2 separate regions of the Homo sapiens genome follow, and region 2 is linked to region 1. Evidence: promoter capture Hi-C in 16 types of primary human blood cells and fetal thymus (Javierre and others, 2016). All regions are on one chromosome and are shown on one strand. Each heading gives the region's core, a stretch centred on a gene start or on the middle of the fragment in contact. The rest is flanking DNA. Distances are from core to core; before and after follow the strand shown.

Region 1 (2,664 bases), core at 63-2,562:
AAAATCCATTGACTCATACACTCTAAATGGGTGACCTTTATGGTGTGTGAATTATGTCTCATAAAGTTGTTAGAAGTCAACATAAATGGAAGAGCAACCATTCACATAAAAATAAACAAAATTGTCAATGTTTTAAGAATTTTTCAGTAGGTGTAGTTAATTACAATTTGACTTTTTTAAGTCTGCACTAAAATTACTCACCAAAACCAATAGCAGGGTCCTCACTGCTGTTACTGAAAATGATTAACCTTTGATACACTTGTAATATCTGAGAAAAAGAAATGCAGGGGTCTCAGCAGGGCTCCCTTCTAAGGTCACTTGATTTCTAAAGAAGTAACCACTAGGTTTGAAGTCATCAGGATGTTAACTATGGGGATGGTTGGTTCAGTACCCAACATCCTGACAGCACATCTGACCATGTATATTGTATCGGAGACCACATCCTCAGCTCAGAAAAAGAGCTGAACTCATTTCAAATAGAAAGCACACTGCATACTGTTCCTCCAGGGACTGAGGTTGACTCTTCTTAGAGTGAGACATTCCCCAACATTGGAACAAAAATGACTCCCACTTCTTTTCTCACCTAAACCTGTTCAGAAGAAAGTAAGGAAGAAAGGCAGGAAGCAGGGGTCGGGGGGGGGCGGGGAGGGAGGGAAACTCGGAGATACTTTCAGTATCTAAAGTTGTGAAACTAGACAATCAGGAACGCACAATCAGAGGGCTGAAAAGGGCCAAGAGCCCCTACCCTCCTCCAGCCCATGTTCCCACACCTGCCACAGACCAGGCAGGAGCACAATAAACACTCACCACAAAGTGGGGAAGGAAAATCCAGGCAGGAGCCTCTATGTAAATAAATCTCCCTCCTGTCCTCAGCTTGCACTTGGCCTGCTAATTCTTATATAACCCAAGGAGACAGCTAGAAAGAATTTTGATTGGTGACCAATTTTGAGGACTTTTATTAAAATTCTAATTTAAGTCTTCGAGAGTTTCCAGTCATGGATACTACAGATAATATTGCAGATGATGAAAGCGTCTTCAAAATCATAGCTGAGACACTTTACAGTCTTCCCTGGTGTACTCTGATGGCAACAAGGTCCCTTGCCCCTCTCCTACCCTGTAGAATTCCAGCGCCCCCCTCAGCAGTCCTAGCAAAGGAAAGCCTGCCTGCTGGCAGTGAGCCATCATCCACCATTCTCACTTATTTGGATTTGGTTTCCTAATGCTAAACTTTGAAACTTGAAAAAAAAAATGAAAGGAAACCACATCCTTTTTACTCTCAGTATATAGATAGAGGCAGTTAAGAACTGAAAACAGATTTTCAGGTTGATTGATGTGGGACAGCAGCCACAATGAGGAACTCCTATAGATTTCTGGCATCCTCTCTCTCAGTTGTCGTTTCTCTCCTGCTAATTCCTGAAGGTAAGACTGATTCTTCTCATTTCCATTATGACCATGAAGCAAAATGGAGCAGACTTTCAATGAACTTTTGGCAATATTACCTTCCTATACTGAAAGAAGATGTTTTCCCCCAAGCCTTATAATGTTTAGCCAGGCACAATGGCACATGCCTGTAGTCCCAGCTACTAGGAACGCTGAGGTGGAAGGATCACTTGAGCGCAGGAGTTTGAGTCCAGGCTGGGCGACATAGTGAGACCCTGTCTCTATTTTTTTTTTTTAAATAGCATTCTTTCTTGGATTTTAAATATGTCTGTATTTTAGAAAAAAAAATCTTTTCTTCTCATAATTATTTTGCAAAAGATAGCAGAACCACCAATGCTTATTGCTGCCAATTTGTAACTTGAAAATTGCCAAAAAGGACAATGTAAAAATGAGTTAACAAAACTCTCTTGTTCGTAAAACAAATAGTACCTTCCAGGAAAGGAATAGTGGCAACTTAGTCAGCTCAGCCTTTCCTGCTGCAGAAAATGCATAGATAAAGACAATTAAGACAAATCTGACCTAGACACCAAAAGTGAATCAGGAATTATTAGAATTTTTATACTTATTTCTCTGGTCTAGAGACTCTTTGGCAATAAATTAAGGCGTGAGGCCAGTTCCCTCATTAACCCTTTGGGTGTGCTATAGTATTTTTTATTAAGCTAATTTTTTGTCTACCAAATGGTAACCAATATTTCTGCTTTTGTGTGAGTTGAGCATGCATGGGTTAAAATGCTGTATAATTCATGGTATTACCACTGAAAGGGTGACAGCTCTTGGGGAGCTCTAGATTTCCCTTGAAGAACCTGCTAGGAAGTGAGGACTACTCTCAAGCTGTGGCAATATGGAGCCAGCCACGGTTTTTCCCAGGATTCATCAGCTTTTGGAGGCAGGGACTTATGTAATAACCTGCCTTGCCAGGAATTCCCAAAGAACTCTGGTTTATCATATTTAGGTGCATATCTGGTTTATGCACCTAAATATGAGAAGACTTTGGGAGGCTGAGGTGGGTGTTTCACAAGGTCAAGAGATGGAGACCATCTTGGCCAACATGGTGAAACCTTGTCTCCACTAAAAAAACAAAAATTAGCTGGGTATGGTGGCACGTGCCTGTAATCCCAGCTACGCAGGAGGCTGAGGCAGGAGAATCGCTTGAACCAGAGAGTTGGAGGCTGCAGTGAGCTAAGATCGTGCCACTGCACTCCAGCCTGGTGACAGAGCGAGACT
Region 2 (2,664 bases), core at 86-2,585, 200 kb before region 1:
AATGGTGCAAAGGTGATGCACATTCAGTGCACTCCTTAGCTCCCGATGGGGTTGCATCTGGATAAACCCATTGTAAATTGAAAATACCGTAAGTTGAAAACACACTGTTGACTAACAATATTTTCAACTTATGATAGGCTTATGAGGTTCCTGATGGGCTTCTAGGGACATAACCCCATTGTAAAATGAGGAGCATCTGCGTCCTCATGGCTTGTCCCATGCTGCTGTCTCTGCTTAAATGTACTCTAACTGGTGAGGACTCCCATAGTCACCATAGATAACAGCTCCTCCATTCTGCATAAGCTGCTTTTTCTCCACAACATTGATAACCATCTGGTATACATAGATCCTTATTTATAGTTTTCCTTCCCACTCTAATGTAAACTCTATGTGGCAGAGACTTGGTATGGTCACTGAGCAACCCCAATGCCTGCAGCAGTGCTTGGGCCATAATGGGTTTTCAATGACTATCTGTGGAATGAATGAATGAATGAATAAGTGGATACTAAGAGTATTCATGCAATGTCTGTTTTCATGAAATTTTGATAAGCCCTCATGATCAAATTGTGGAGATATTCTAAGAAAATAATTACATCTTGATTCTTTTGAGTAGGTGAATTGCCCCTTTTTTCCCCTCAGAAAAATCTGTTGGGCAGGTAAGCTACACTCAGTAGCTTAAGATGAGTCTCAATCCTGGGACTCAAGTGTTTTAACTCCAAATTCCATCCCATTTCCGTAGCCCAACATGTATCCTTTCCTTTAGCACAGAGAAAGAAGTCTTCTTTTGGAAAGCGTCATTTCCTTTCACTGTCTCCGCTTTCTCACCTCTTTTGGAGTTTAGTCTCTTTTTGACCAACCTCAACCCAGCCTCGTCATCCCTGCACCCGGCATCTTGTTACAGGCACTAGAGTTACTTATTCAGGGCAAACCTCCACTTGCCTCTAGATCCCATTCCCTTCTGCTTCTTCAAGGCGTCTCTCTCTCTCTTTTTCTTTCTCTCCTGCAATCTTCAATATCCCCCTCTCTATTTTTCCAGCTAAAAAGGATATTCTAATCCTAAAAATCCCTTTCCTGATATTATAGTCCCTTCACCATACCTAACTTCCCCCCAACTCTTCTGATCCAACTCTTTGAAGCACATGATGTCCCCTTCTCTTTGCACCCATTCAATCAGGGCAGTATAATTTCTGTTTCCTGCTGAGCTACTGAAGGTAGGATGAGATGAGAGCAGAAAGCGCCAATCACCACACCTGATGGTACTCTCTGTTCTCATCTCGCCCTACATTCAGTAGCATTCAAACTGACTGCTCTTTCCTTGAAATCCTTTCCTTTCTTGGCTTCCATAAAGCAACAGGCTCTGTGTTAACCTCCCACTTCAGTGACTGCACCTGCTTAGTCTCCTCTGCTAGCTCCATGTCCTCTAAGCCATCTCTGCACTCAGAGCTCAGCCCTACCTGCTCTCTTCTTCTCCATCTACAAATTTTTTCCCGCCCCATGGTTTGAAGTACTACATGGAAAGGACTCCCAAATTCATACTTCTGGTTCTGAGGGGCCCCCTGGGTTTCAGCCTTACTTGTGTATCCAAAGCCCTTGTTATGGACCAAATGTCTGGCCTTCTCCCCCACCTCCCTGCCCAAATTCAAATGCTGAAATCCTAACCCTCAATGTGATGGTATTAGGAGTGGGGGCCTTGAGAGGTAATTCGATCTTGAAAATGGAGCCCACATTAATGGGATTAGTTTCCTTATTGGGAGAGACCAGAGAGCTAGCTTCCTCTCTCTGTTCTCTACCATGTGAGGATACGATGAGAAGACAGCTGTCTACAAACCAAGGAGAATGCCCTCACCAGACACTGGATGTGCAGGCACCTTGATCTTGGACTTCCCAGCTTCTAGAACTATGAGAAATAAAATGTTTGTTATTTAAGCCACCCAGTCCATGGGGCCTTATGTTATGACAGCCTGAACTGAATAAGATAGGCCTGCTTGCCATTTTCCCCCAGTTGTCAAATAGTCATCTCAAAATTAATGTGACAAAAATGGAAGCCTTGACTTCTGCTCTGCAAGCCTGGTCCTCCTCTCATCCCCTTCATCTCTGTAATAGCACCACCATCTATCTCATGGTTCAAGTCCAAACCTTACGAATCAACACTCATTCATCTCTTTTCCTTATACCCAAAGTCCTGTTAGCCCTACATCTAAACATGACTCAAATCAATCTGCTTCTCTCCATCTCTGTTGCTGCTCTAATCCAAGTGACCATCGATGCTGTGTTATCTCCCCAGGGTCTGGACCAGCAGCTGACACAGCATGTACTCAATAAGTAGTTGATGAAGAAATGAAGAAATTAATATGAAATTTTTTTCTATTTGAAGTTGTCAGTTTACCATTTTCATAGGAGAGTAATGGAAAGCCAGCCAAACTATTTTACAGCAGAACTCAGAGACCTCAAGGAAAATTTAGAAGTCAGTAAAGTGTGTATCTTAATACCCCCAAATGCCAGTCCTGCTTTTGTTCCCATGGGGACCCTTCTATTCCTCTGCCATCTTCATAATTTCTCAGAGTAAAAACCTACCCTGAAGAAAGGGGCTGGAATTCCTCACACAGAAATATAAATCAATGATAGCCACTTCAACGAGTGTCCTCACAGAGCATTTGGGAGCAA

The links. The method cuts DNA at HindIII sites, captures the fragments that hold promoters and counts their contacts. A CHiCAGO score of 5 or more calls a contact.
Region 2: a contact is called between a fragment that was not itself captured here and the fragment with the promoter of GZMA in region 1, in 3 of 17 cell types (activated CD4 T cells, total CD8 T cells and fetal thymus). The highest score is 5.9, in activated CD4 T cells.

The regions. Positions count from the first base shown.
Region 1 is chr5:55,101,334-55,103,997 of GRCh38, forward strand. It overlaps GZMA (granzyme A), which reads left to right and starts at 1,313. Exons shown (of 5, transcript NM_006144.4): 1 at 1,313-1,419. The coding sequence starts at 1,350. The HindIII fragment of the contact is 5,521 bases long and covers 1-2,664 here.
Region 2 is chr5:54,898,216-54,900,879 of GRCh38, forward strand. No RefSeq gene overlaps it. Among named protein-coding and RNA genes, the nearest start is that of ESM1, 86 kb to the right of the region's middle. RefSeq lists a silencer at 1,457-1,614. The HindIII fragment of the contact is 5,239 bases long and covers 1-2,664 here.